3 separate regions of the Homo sapiens genome follow, and regions 1 and 2 are each linked to region 3. Evidence: promoter capture Hi-C in human tissues and cell types (Jung and others, 2019). All regions are on one chromosome and are shown on one strand. Each heading gives the region's core, a stretch centred on a gene start or on the middle of the fragment in contact. The rest is flanking DNA. Distances are from core to core; before and after follow the strand shown.

The links. The method cuts DNA at HindIII sites, captures the fragments that hold promoters and counts their contacts. A contact is called where the count stands out against the background at its distance.
Region 1: a contact is called between a fragment that was not itself captured here and the fragment with the promoter of TGFB1I1 in region 3, in 2 of the 25 tissues and cell types used here (bladder and spleen).
Region 2: a contact is called between a fragment that was not itself captured here and the fragment with the promoter of TGFB1I1 in region 3, in 1 of the 25 tissues and cell types used here (spleen).

The regions. Positions count from the first base shown.
Region 1 is chr16:31,333,586-31,338,367 of GRCh38, reverse strand. No RefSeq gene overlaps it. Among named protein-coding and RNA genes, the nearest start is that of ITGAX, 19 kb to the left of the region's middle. The HindIII fragment of the contact is 5,342 bases long and covers 609-4,782 here.
Region 2 is chr16:31,264,687-31,269,334 of GRCh38, reverse strand. It overlaps ITGAM (integrin subunit alpha M), which reads right to left. Exons shown (of 30, transcript NM_000632.4): 3 at 3,837-3,940; 4 at 3,454-3,524; 5 at 3,188-3,305. Among named protein-coding and RNA genes, the nearest start is that of ITGAM, 7.0 kb to the right of the region's middle. RefSeq lists enhancers at 3,488-3,967, 3,082-4,281. The HindIII fragment of the contact is 5,038 bases long and covers 1-4,307 here.
Region 3 is chr16:31,470,475-31,474,769 of GRCh38, reverse strand. TGFB1I1 (transforming growth factor beta 1 induced transcript 1) reads right to left here and starts at 2,618. Exons shown (of 11, transcript NM_001042454.3): 1 at 2,569-2,618; 2 at 1,214-1,329; 3 at 1,036-1,088; 4 at 793-935; 5 at 531-618; 6 at 315-420; 7 at 13-207. The coding sequence starts at 2,581. RefSeq lists an enhancer at 1,739-2,279. The HindIII fragment of the contact is 11,590 bases long and covers 1-4,295 here.

The DNA.
Region 1 (4,782 bases), core at 2,030-4,529, 140 kb after region 3:
GCCACTTTGTTTACCTACTCAAGCCTGAGCAATGGCGGGCGCCCCTCCCCCAGCCTCACTGGCACCTTGCAGTTTGATCTCAGACTACTGTGCTAGCAATGAGTGAGGCTCCATGGGTGTAGGACCCTCTGAGCCAGGTGCAGGATATAATCTCCCAGTGTGCCATTTGATAAGTCCATTGGAAAAGTGCAGTATTAGGGTGGGAGTGACCCGATTTTCCAGGTGCCGTCTGTCACCCCTTTCTTTGACTAGGAAAGGGAATTCCCTGACCCCTTGCACTTCCCGGACGAGGCAATGCCTCACCCTGCTTCGGCTCATGCACAGTGCACTGCACCCACTGTCTTGCACCCACTGTCCTGCACCCACTCTCCGGTACTCCCCAGTGAGATGAACCCGGTACCTCAGTTGGAAATGCAGAAATCACCCATCTTCTGCATCACTCACGCTGGGAGCTGTATACTGGAGCTCTTCCTATTTGGCCATCTTGGCTCCACCCCCCACTGGCCTCCAATTTTTCAAGAAAAACTATAAATACAGATTCCTCTCAGAAATCTCTCAATTTTAAAATGTCAGCAACTAATCAAAAACAAACAAACAAGACCATGTGGGTCAAATAAGACCTGACAGCTGGATTTGGTCCAAAGGCTGTGAGTTTGGAATCTCTTTTCTGAATTGGAAGTGATTATGAGCTAAGAATCTCCAAAAACAAAGCCTGTGTGTTTTCCCTGGGAAAGGGAAATCCACACCATCTGGGCACACATCTCTCGAGAATCACTCCAGAAAGGGAGGGAAGCACCTTTCTAGCAGCTTTCTCATGCATCTGCAGGGGGGACAGGTCACAGCCTATTTCTCTATCAGGTCATCCTGCCACCAGGTGGGAAGGAATGAAGGGAGAGGACCCACCCCACAGTGCTCTCAGAGATGGAGGGTAAATCCCTAGAGACCAAGCCACATGGGCTCATCACGGAAGGTCCTACACATGGAGAAAACATAACTGCACCTGTGACCATCTTGGGGACCCTCTATTTTGAGTGCTGGCCTTATCATGAGTAGTGATAAGAGGAAAGGGATTAAAATGCTAGAAGCTGGGGTAGCTGCACCATCAAGAGGCCTTCAGAGGCCGGGAGTGGCAGCTCACACCTGACATCCCAGTGCTTTGAGAGGCCAAGAAGGAAGGATCACCTGAGGCCAGGAATTCAAGACCAGCTTGGGCAACATAGCAAGACCCCGTCTCTACAAAAAAAAATCATAAAACAATCAGCCAGGCATGGTGGCACATGCCTGTAGTTCCACCTACTCGGGAGGCTGATGTGGGAGATCACTTGAGCCCAGGAGCTCAAGGTTGCAGTGAGCTGTGATCACGCCACTGCACTCCAGCTTTGGCAGCAGAGCGAGACACTGTCTGAAAAAAGAAAAAGAAGAATAAGAAGAAGACGACTTCGGCCTTTACCACAATTGGGAGAACAGAATCTTTGGGAAGGTGGTGATATCAATTAACAAAACAGATAAACTGCTGTATCGGAGGCTCTGAGTGATAGTGTTTTCAACAAGACCAGTGTTCTCATCTCTCTCCTGTAATGGCATGAGAATATGGAGTCCAGGGCTGACATGGTGCCTCCGCAGAGGCGGGACCCAGCCTCCTCTGTTCCACTCTTGCATTCTTCGATGTCAAACTCATCTTCAGGGTCCAAAATTGTGCACCGTGATGCTGACACTCCAGCCAGCGGGAAGGTGGTGAAAAGAAACGACACTTCTTCCCTCAAAGGACCTGGCTCCGAAGTTGCTCGCTTCACTGCTGCTCACATCCCATCAGCCAGAACCTCGCCAGGCAGCCACACCAGCTGCACAGGAGGTGGGGAGACGAACCCTATAACTAAGGGGCTATACGCAATATCCATTGCAGCGTAACAAACCACCACGCAGGACTGAGACATCAGTAATTGATTATTTCTCACAGTTGCATGAGGTGACAATCCAGGCAGTTCTGTGGGACTCTCCAGTGGCTGCAGGTGTTGGACAGCTGGATGGAAGGATCACAGCAGCCTCATGCATGCACAGTGGCAGTGGCCTCCGCTGTCTCCTCCATGAGTCCACTCTTTCTCCAGTGGGCCATATGGATCACGGCGTGGTGACCTCAGTGTTCCGAGGGGTGCAGGGCAGGATCTGCTGTGCTCCTAAAGGTCTAGGCTCCAGAACTCACACGACCACACTCCTACTGTATTCTATTAATCAAAGCAAACCACGGGACCAGCCCAGATTCAAAGAGGTAGACAGGCCGCACCATGTGATGTCAGGGACAGCAATGTCACACTGCAAGGGTGTAGGGCCGGGAAGCACCATTCACTGGGAGTCAGAATTGTAACCATCTCCCATGGTGGCCCAAATTAAGATTCTACTCTAAGTAGGAAAAGGAGAGTGGATACTGAAGGGATTCATTTATTCTGAAGTGAGAAATCCCCAAAAATAAAAGCAAGCAGACGTTCCTGGACTTGGCCACTTATCACCAGATTTATGGTCCTGTTTATTAGTCACTTTGTGGTCATGCTAGGGAAATCTGTCGCTTGAAATGATTGACTTTTCTAACCCATCATAAAGCTCCTATCTGGCTGAATTCAACACAAGCTTCTCATTTGAAGACGCGGAGGTGAACTCTGAGTTCACAGGACTTTAACTGCCCTGCAAAGACTGGCGGCTACAGGCACGGAGGCTGCAAGGACAGGCAACTACAGGTATGGAGGCTGCCAGGACAAGCAACTAGGTACGAAGGCTACAAGGACCAGCATGGAGGCTGCAAGGACAGGCGACTACAGACATGGAGGGTGAAAGGACAGGCGACTAAAGGTACAGAACTCTCTCTGTTCCCGGAGCAATTCAGGACTTCTGCAGATATTGAGGACTTTTATCTTTCAACATAAGGAAACACAGAAATTCTTAACAGACTTTATTTAAGTCAGGAGAGGAAATAGCAAAGAACCGTCTAAAGGTGACCGTGTTTTGTGTCACCCCCACAGATACAAAGGGCCATTGTCTCATTAGCCACCTTTTGAGGGCATCTCACTTCACTTTGAGTGAAATTGGAACTACTCACTCTGGCTTACAAAGCACTCATGCCCAAGCCCTGCCCACTCTCCCAGCCTCCCCTGCCCTCCCTTCTGCCTGGAGATCTTCTGGCCCTGCTTCAGTCAGGTGTCACCTCCCTTGGGGACCCTTCCTTCACCTCCCTAAGGAGTAAGCCCTCTCTCCTCCTGCCACATGTGAAACAAGTGTCCCTCTAAGCCATGATTTTCTTGTATTTCAATGAAGATCATGAAATTACCATTTTTTGGCTGGGCACAGTGACTCACACCTGTAATCCCAGCATTTCGGGAGGCCAAGGCAGATGGATCACCTGAGGTCAGGAGTTCAAGACCAGCCTGGCCAACATGGTGGAACCCCATCTCTACCAAAAATACAAAAAAAAAAAATTAGCCAGACATTGTGGTGCACGCCTGTAATCCCAGCTACTCAGGAGGCTGAGGCAAGATAATCACTTGAACCCGGGAGGGAGAGGTTGTAGTGAGCTGAGATCACACTACTGTACTCCAGTCTGGGCGACAGAACAAGACTCCATGAAAAAAAAGAAAGAAAGAAAGAAAGAAAGAAAGAAAGAAAGAAAGAAAGAAAGAAAGAAAGAAAGAAAGAAAGAAAGAAAGAAAGAAGGAAGGAAGGAAGGAAGGAAGGAAGGAAGGAAGGAAGGAAGGAAGGAAAGAAAGAAAGAAAAAAGAAAGGAAGGAAGGAAGGAAGGAAGGAGGAAGGAAGGAAGGAAGGAAGGAGGAAGGAAGGAAGGAAGGAAGGAAGGAAGGAAAGGAAGGAAGGAAGGAAGGGAAAGAAAGAAAGAAGGAGAAAGAAAGAAAGAAGGAGAAAGAAAGAGAGAGAGAAAGAAAAGAGAGAAAGAGAAAGAAAGAAAGAAAAGAAAGAAACATTTTTGTCCAAAAACATGTCATCAATTTCATATGCTTTAACCCAATATCATAACAGTTAAATAACAGCCACCCTCTCCCCACACTCCCTCATGCCTGTTCTGGGGCCATTCCTCTGAGGCTGTCAGGACAGTAAAAGAGAAAAGCTTTAGACCTAGGCAGAGCTGGGATTAACTCCTAGCTCCATTCCTTCCCAGCTGTATGACCTCAGGCAACTGGTATGATCTATCTAAGCCTAGGTTTCCTCATAAGTGAAATTCATGTAAATACCAAGGACTGGTGTGAGGATTAGAGAGGATGTATGTTCAGGCCAGGCTAGTGTTTACTGTGTTTGCAAAGTATGAGGGACAGGCACTGGGCATCCTCCCTCTGAGGAAGCAGCCACCAAAATGTCACCTGCACACACCTTGGCAGCAAGTGCTCCTGGTGCCCTGACCTGAACCAAAGGCACCGTGTCAGGGGCTGTGTTCACCTGTCAAACATCCAGCCAGCAGCACTGGTATCACTTTCTCTGGCCACTAGAGCCCACTCTCCTCACACTCAGGGCAGGCCAGAAGTGGTAGGAAATTAACACACTCTCCCCACCAAGAGCAGCCCTCATCCAATAGCTAAGTGGAATCGGTGTCTATGCGCTCCAGCCTTCTCCCCTGGGTGGGGTGATACTGAGGTGCGTGTTCTGCACTGCCTCCGAGAACTGCCCAGTGGGGTGAAGCTCCAGGAACTCACAGCAGCTTCTCTGTGGGTGATACACCTGTTATTGGCAGCCTTCCCTTCCTCGGTATTTCCTGGAGCCATCTCTTTATTTTATTTTATTTTATTTATT
Region 2 (4,648 bases), core at 539-3,038, 200 kb after region 3:
AATTATGATTTAGGAGTCATGCAGCTGGAGGCTACAAGATTCTGACCCTCCCTAAACTGCTCCTAAAATCAGTGCTTGAGATATTTTGCAGACCTTGCACTTGATGGATCAGCTGGCACTGCCCAGATCAATAAACTGGTTCATCCGATCTTGCTGCCCCCACCCAGGAACCAACTGAACGCAAGAAGACAGCTCCGACTCCCGATGATTTCATCCCTGATCAATCAGCACTCCCAGCTCACTGGCTTCCCCCGCGACCTACCAAGTTATCCTCAAAAACTCTGCCCCCAAATGCTCGAGGAGACTGATTCGAGTGATAATAAAACTCTGGTCCCCTGCATAGCTGGCTCTGTGTGAATTATTCTTTCTCTATCGCAATTCTGCTGTCTTGATGAATCGGCTCTGTCTAGGCAGCAAGCAAGGTGAACCCCTTGGGCAGTTACATTACTGGAATGTGCTTTTGGTCCCAGTTGAGACTCCTACTGATATATGGGACAAGGGCCTCAAAAGGATTCTGGCAGAATCCAGGAATGCCGTTTGATGGAAACAGCACTACAGGGACAAACGTATGTGACGGCGATGGAGACACAGCGGTGGCATCAAGCAAAGAGCAGCGGGCAAGGGCCTTTCTACTCCAATAAGGAGCTCGACTTTATCTGTAGGCAATGGGGAGCCACAGAAGGTTCTTAGAAAAGGAAGTGAGATGATTTGTTTTGTATTTTAGAAAGACTGGCAGGGCACAGTGGCTCATGCCTGTAACCCCAGCACTTTGGGAGGCCTCCTGAATAGCTAAGACCACAGGCACACGCCACCATGCCTGGCTAATTGCATTTTTTGTAGAGATGGGGTCTCATTATGTTGTCTAGGCTGGTCCCAAACTCCTGGCCTCAAACAATCCTCCTGCCTTGACCTCCCAAAGTGCTGGAATTACAGGTGTGAGCTACCGCACCCTTTCGAATTTTGAACCAAGTGTATGTATTATATATTTTTTAATAAATGAAAACTTTTTTAAAGAAGTAGTCTTGAACCCTGAGAGTGAGGTCTAAAGAGGGAGAGGTAGAAGTGTTAGCTGAAGCCACAGAACTGGGTGATTTCAGGAAAGAAGAACACGTGGGTGAAAAGAGAACCCAGAACCCAGTGCCCCTAGGTGGAGAGGGAAGCTGGAGGCCAGCCGGGGGTGAAGAGAATGCACTCAGGAAGCTTGGGTGGTGAGGGTGAGGAGAGATGGCAGGAGATGAGGAGGAGACTGGAAGAGAGAAGATTGTTTTCATGGCTATCGATTGTGGTGGTTGATTGCTTTTCAGATACAGATAGAATGAAGAGTGTTTACAGCCAGAGGAAGGGGGAAGTTAATTGTCCTAGAGAGAAAACAAGTGATTCAAGAGATGCTGGGCCAGGCGCAGTGGCTCACACCTGTGATCCCAGCACTGTGGGAGGCTGAGGTGGGAAGATCTCTTGAGCCCAGGAATTCGAGACCAGCCTGGGCAACAAGGTGAAACCCCATCTCTACAAAAAATACAAAAATCAGTATATGCGCACCTGTGATCCCAGCTACTCTGGAGGCGGAGGCACAAGAATTTCTTGAGCACAGGAGGCAGAGGCTGCAGTGAGCCGAGATTGTGCCACTGCACTCCAGCTTAGGTGACAGAGCAAGACCCTGTCTCCAAAAAAAAAAGAAAAAAGAAAGATAGGTGATCACCTTAGTTGGTGCATGAGAGACTCTCAAAAGCCCATATGGAAGAATTTAGTCATGGGACAGAGGAGAGACAGGTCTTCCTCTAAAACGAGTGAGTCACTGCCAGGAGTGCTGTCATTATGGAAATTTGAGAAAAAGGAGAAAGTGCGGTGTTACAGCTCCTTTAGAATTTGTCAACAAATTCCAGTGAAGACTGGAAAACCGCTTATTAAGATAAAATAAGAGAAGGGGAAAGTGGAGGGAGTCCATGCCTGAAGCTTTTGTTTTCTCTGTGGAGGAAGGAGGATTAACTGTGGAGGGTGAAATATAGAGGAACAGGGCTTGAGAAAGAAAAAAAATGCAAGGGAGAAACATTCGCCTGTGGTCCCAGAATCAACATGAAGACAAGCAAAAAGATGGCATAGCCATCGAACAAAGCAGTGGGAAAAAGCAGCTTGAAAGATCCACGCACTCTGGCCAGGCATGGTGGCTCATGCCCCCCACTCATTCCCTGGCTCATTCCCAGCACTTTGGGAAGCCAAGGTGGGCAGATCACCAGAGCTCAGGAGTTCGAGACCAGCCTGGCCAACATGGTGAAACCCCGTCTCTGCTAAAAATACAAAAATTAGCCGGGTGTGGTGGCGGGCACCTGTAATCCCAGCTACTTGGGAAGATGGGGCAGGAGAATCGCTTGAACCTGGGAGGCAGAGGTTGCAGTAAGCCAAGATCGTGCCACTGCACTCCAGCCTGGGTGACAGAGCGAGACTCTGCCTCAAAAAAAAAAAAAAAAAAAAAAATCCATACAGTCACTCAGAATCTCAATCAACAGAGGTTTGGGGAACAGGGGTGTGGAAGGCCGCCCCCCAGGATGGTCCCCAAGATTCCCACCTCTTGCCAATGACACCTTGCACCATCCCCTCCTCTGCAGTGTGACCTGGACTTATTTTTTAAAGACAGGGTCTTGCTCTGTCACCCAGGTTGGAGTACAGTGGTGCAATCATAACTTGCTGCAGCTTCAACTTCCCAGGCTCAAGTGATCCTCCTGAGTAGCTGGGACTGCAGGTGTGTGCCACCACGCCTGGCTAATTTTTTTTTTTTTTTGTAGAGACGGGGATCTCCCTATGTTGCCCAGGCTTGCCTTGAACTTGTGGCCTCAAGCAATCTTCCCACCTTGGCCTCCAAATAGCTAAGACTACAGGTGCTCATCACCACACTCAGCTAATTTTTTTTTTTTTTTTTTTTAGAGACAGGATCTCACTACATTGCCCAGGCTGATCTCAAGCTCCTGGGCTCCCAAAGCTTTGGGATTGCAGGTATGAGCCACTGTGCCTAGCCAAGGCGTTTTCCTAAAGTACAAGACCCTAGCACCTCCCTAGCTTCTGACTCTAATGGGACCCAGTTCCCCCACTCTTCTGCACCCAGAGCCCAGACCTTGAGCAGACGTCACCTCAGTCCTGCCCCCTCCCCTGGTCTTTTGCTGCGCATCTGTTCCCTCTGCCAAAGGCAACCCACCTCGGAGGGCCTCTGGGAACTTCTGGGGCTGCTGCCGTAGGTTGGATCCAAACAGGAAGCAGAGCCCTTTCACATACGTGTTCTCACTGCAAGTCTGGTGCACGGTGGGACCACAGGCCTAGGGGACAGGAGCCAGTGGAAGGGGCTGCCCCTGCTTCCTGTCCTTGTACCCCAGCACCTCCACCCTCCACAAGACCCCCAGCCCCACCATGCGTGGGCCCCCAAACACCCCCATTAGGATGCTCCTCTGATCGAGCCCCACTCACCAGCAGCTGAGGGGGGCTGGTGGTGGCTGCCAGGGACAGGCCCAGGGACATGTTCACGGCCTCCACGGGGACTGCGGGGACAGATATGGGCATGGTCACCCTGGTGGGGGGACAGAGAAGGCTGTGGAAGAGCTGGGCAGGGGTCACCTCCATGCGGGAGACAAGGAGGTCTGACGGTGAAGGGGGATCCTAAATCTTGGGAAAGAAAGGAACACAGAGGGGTTGCCTGGGGATGTCTAGGGTAGAGACTGCAGGCAGAGGAGAGGGTACGGAGGCAGGCACCTGTGTCCCCACCACAGATCCCCAGGACACAGGAGTGCCTGGAAAGTCCCTATGTGTTCACAGGGGAATCCCAGTCCCAGCCCGGCGGGGCAGTGACTCACCCTGCAGGCGGATGGGCTCGCATGAGCCTGTGCTGTAGTCGCACTGGTAGAGGCTGCCCCTTTGGTTGGCAGCCACTATCTCCTGGGGGGCTCCAACCACCACCCTGTGGGGAGAAGTGGGAACAGAGAAAACTTCGACATGTGGGGAGAGAAGGAGACCACAGAGGAAGTTCTGCCACCCAGAGGACGGTGGGGGCCCATACCCGGATTCCTAAATTCCTATGACTAGGAGGAAGAATTAGCAAAGAAAAAAATGGGAAAATGTTAAGACTCAGAATGAGAAAAGGTCTTCCTAAGAATGACACAAAAACCAGAAGTCATTTAAAAATAGGACCAGGCGCGGTGGCTCATGCTTGTAATCCTAGCACTTTGGGAGGCCAAGGGGGTGGATTGCCTGAGCTCAGGAGTTCAAGATCAGCCTGGGCAACATGGTGAAACCCCGCCTCTACTAAAAATACAAAAAATTAGCCACACGTGGTGGTGCGTACCTGTAATCCCAGCTAAATGGGAGGCTGAGGCAAGAGAATTGCTTGAACCCAGGAGGCAGAGGTTGCAGTGAGCCGAGATAGCACCACTGCACTCCAGCCTGAGAGACAGGGCAAGACTCTGTCCCAAAAAATAAATGAATAAATTTTAAAAATAAAAATAGGTCAATTCAAGCTGGGCACCATGGCTCATGCCTTTAATCCCAGCACCTTGGGAGGTTGAGGCAGGAGCATCATTTGAGGCCAGGAGTTTGAAACTAGCCCGGGTAACATAGCCAGACCCCATCTCTACAAAAAATGTTTTTAAAAATTAGCCAGGTATGGTGG
Region 3 (4,295 bases), core at 1,369-3,868:
GGCTCCACTTACTTGCCCAGCAATAGGTTTATTGCAGGAGCCACAGAGGCCTTTGGCCTGGGTGGGAACACCCCGGCGGCTGAGGTCGGACTGCAGCAGCCCCAGCATGGTGTCTAGGCTGCCCTTGCCAGTCGGCTCTGGTGGGGATGGGGAGCCCTCATTTGTGGAGCTCACCACCGGTGGCTGAGTTGGCCCAGAGGCTGGAAGCTGCAGCGGGGAGGACATGAGAATTGAGTCAGCAAAGCAGCAGATGTGGAATTGTCTAGAAGGGGTTGGGGAGCCACAAATGGACACTGGCCCACTGCCCAACTCACATGGTTTTGAACGCGGAAGTCAGAGAGTGAGGCCATCAGTCTATCCAGCTCCAGAGTGGCTGAGGTGGCAGAAGCCTTTGGGAGGCCAGGAGACGGGCTGGAAGGGCTGTGAAGAACATGCTTGTGTCATCTCAGAGCCTCCCAGAGCAACGCTCCCTCTAGTGACTCAGATATCCAGGACTCATCTCTCAGCCCTGACAACGACGCCAAACTCACAGGCTGGGTCTTTTCTTATCTTCAGACTGGTCCTCCTTCTGCTCTCCTGAAGCCACCTTGCTAGATGGGAACTGAGACATGATTTCATCTGGAGAGAGGAGAGGAGGACGCTACATATAGGGCCATGCTCAACGCACCCTCACACTTGAGGCTTTAGGTCCCTTTAACTGCTACTCTGGGAAGTGTATTCCTCTTAGTCTCTGCCCCACCCTTCCCTCCCCTGCCCCTATCGCATCAAGGCCTCTCTCAGTCACCCTGGTACCTGTGATGTTGAACTGAGTGGCATTAAGTTCCTGAAGCAACCGATCTAGCTCACAGAGCCCGGTACCCAAGACACCGCTGGAAGAGGAGAATGGAGGGGCCGCCGGGGCTGCAGGCTTTGGGGACCGAGGCTTGCATACCGTGCTGGGAAGCAGAGTGGGAGCCTGGGTTCAGGGGTGGGGAATCCAAGCCTCCTCACCTGAGACTCAGTTGGCCCCCATGCCCTGGTTTCCAGGCCCCTCACCTGTACAGGTGGTCCTTGTCCCCCGAGGCTCCTGAAGACTCCCCAGACCCTGTCTACAGAGCGGAGACGCACAGGTGGGATGACAGGCCTGCACTCTGCCCCACTGAGGCTGAGATCCCCATAGACCAGGCCGAGCCTGGCCCTAGTGGCTGCCCCAGTCCCCAACATCCGATCTCACCTGTGGCTGGTGGCCATAGGATGGGGGAGGGGTGAGAGGCTCCGCAGGGCGCTCTTTGGGAGCCCCTGACCTTGGCATGTGCGAGGTGGTAGTCTCCAGGTCAGAGAGCAGGGCATCTGCAGGAAGAGGCCATCAGGGAGAGAGACAAGGGTCACGGTTAGATCAGAAGATAAGGTTCCCAGTGGGCAGTACTGGAGAAGGACAGAAGCCAGTATTAAGAGAAGAGGTCACAGGGCCAGAGCCAGGCAGAGCACTGCTCGAAGGGTAGCAAGGAATATTTATGACCAGAATATCCCAGTTGCTCACGCTTGGAGCCAAGCACAAACCCAGCCTCCTGATTATTTTATTCTCCCCATCTTCTCTGATGCAGTCAAAATGGGCTCTTCACCCAAGCCAAATTTGGCTCCCCTCCAAATTGCTCCATTGGCCCAGTGCCTGGCCCTCAGCTTTCTGATTGGACGCTCTCTCTTCCATGCTGGTTAACTCCTCCCTCTACCTACACAGGCCCCGCCCAGCCTGGCCACTCCCAGGCCCCTGAGTCCCGCCCTGGGCTCCTCACTGGCGCTTCGCTGGGACCTGCCTTCTGATTGGCTGTTTATCTGCGGTACAGCGTCAGTTACCCCTACCGAGCAGCGCCCTCTACCGCCAGGGGCCGGAAGCCCCTCTCTCCCGTGGAGCGCACAGCCTTCCAGCCCCAGGCTTCGCAGGGAGGACGAGATACCTGGGTCCCCCTTCCGGACAAGACACCTCTCTCCATCCCTGCATCCCCAGATCCGGGTCTTTTGAGCCCTTTCACTTCCAGAACCCAGAAGTCCTGCCCTCAGTCTTCGTCTCTGAGCACCCGCGTGAAACCCTGAAGCCTTCGCGGGCGCCTAGGCACTCCTGAGTTACTATTCTCTTCCTTGCCTCAAGGACCTGACCCTCACTGTGCTCAGGAGCCCTTAACTCCTCCTCTCCCAAAACTCTGGTGCAGGCAGGCCCGCTTTTTTTCTCCAAAACTTGATGCCAGACTTTCCCGTGCCCTCTACTTTCCCGGTCCCCGGGCCGAGGCCCCTTTAACCCCTCCCTCCCCAGAGCCCCGCGCCCGGGCGCCCGCGGGCGCCGCACCTCCCGTTCCATCTGCCGCAGCCTGGGATGGAGGAGCACAGCGAGGGAAGAAGGGAGGGAGCGGCCGGCCCAGGAAAGGCAGGAAGGGAGAGGCAGGAAGGGGGACGTGGAGTTGGAAAGGAGGCGCGGGCAGAGGCGAAAAGCAGAAGTAAGAAGACAGGGATGGGGAGATGCGGGAGAGCGACGGCGGGGAGGCAGCTCTGGGCAGCGGTGAGGGGCCACGGACCCGGGGATCCGGCCCCACTCACCCAGGTCCTCCATGGCGGGGCGCGGGCCGGTGGCGCGGGGCGAACAGGGCGGGGGCCGTGTCCGGTGGGGGCGGGGGGCGGGGGACGTCCGGGAGCTGGAAGCCCGGCCGTGACCATGTAAGGAAGCCGGGACCCGCTGAGATGGGGATGGGGGGGCGATGAACGGGGGAACCCGAGGTGGGGGCGTGGAAAGGAGGGAGCGCCCCGGCCCACCCGAGCCCAGCCCGCCGGCCTGCCGCGGAGGCGGCCACACCCCAGCCTTGGCCTCAGCTGCAGGGAGCCCCAGGAGGCCAGAGCCAGAGAGAAGTGGCTTCTCCAGACCAAGCCCCAGAGCCGCTCCCTAGGGAGACTTACAGACACGGACTGAGGCCCCCAAACAGACACCGCTCAAAGCTAGCGCCTGAGTCCTAGACAAGAGCCTCCCTCCCACCCATGCCATTCCTGGGAGACTTGTCCCAGACGGAATTTTTGGATTGGTAGCAGGAGTGATATTCTAAGGCTCAATTAGACCTCAGGTTCGGAGACCCTCCCATCGGAGACCCTGACAGATAAATAGAGGCCCCAAGAGGCATACATACCAGACACAAAGAAATCTGAGGGACGGGGACAGACACAGTGAACCCACCCACAGACTCTACACTAGGACCTTCCCTCCAAGACTTGGTCATGGACACACGTAAACTCGAACCCGGGCGCAAGCCCCTTGCAAATTCGGGGAAAACACTCCCAGGCAACCAACCCCCAGCCAGCCTGCAAGACAAAGCCCTTCCTCAGCACTGAGGTGGCCCAGGCCTGCTCTGAAACAGCCCTTTCCCAAGTTACTGATGAACTCAGAGCAGAAAGCAAGACACAGTCTCCAGCCACAAAGTGGCAAGGCCTTCCCTGGACTGAGACCCTGAGAAACGAGGTGGAAACGAGAGGCCATAGAGGTAGTTATGGACAGACAACTGTGCTGCAGCCACTCTTCTGGACAGATCTGAGCACTGGAATGTGAGTATCAACCCAGCAGCAAATCGGAACAACCTGGGGAGCTTTTTAAAAATGCGAGACAGGCATGGTGGCTCACACCTATAATCCTAGCACTTTGGGAGGTCAAGGCGGGCAGGTCACTTGAGGTCAGGAGTTCGAGACCAGCCTGGCCAACATGACAAAACCCCATCTCTACTAAAAACACAAAATTAGCTGTGCGTGGTGGTGGGAGCCTGTAATTCCAGCTACTTGGGAGGCTGAGACAGGAGAATTGCTTGAAACCTGGAGGCAGAGGCTGCAGTGAGCTGAGATTGTGCCACTGAACTCCTGAGCAACAGAGGAGACCCTGTGTCAAGAATAAAAAAGAAAAAGAAGAAAAAATGGGCAAACGACCTGAATAGACAGTTCAAAGAAGTTATATAAATAGCCAATGATTACATGAAAAGATCCTCAACATCATTAGTCCCCAGAGAAATGCAAATCAAAACTACAATGAGATGCCACATCATACCTATTAGGATGGCAATAACAAAAAAGACAGGTAATTAGGCAAGGAGCAGTGGCTCACACCTGTAATCCTAACACTTTGGAAGGCCGAGGTGGGTGGATCCCCTGAGGTCAGGAGTTCGAGACCAGCCTGGCTAACATGGTGAAAACAGTCTCTACTAAAAACACACAAAAAAATTAGCCAGACATGGTGGTGGGCACCTGTAGTCCCAGCTACTTGGGAGGCTGAGGCGGAAGAATCCCTTGAACCT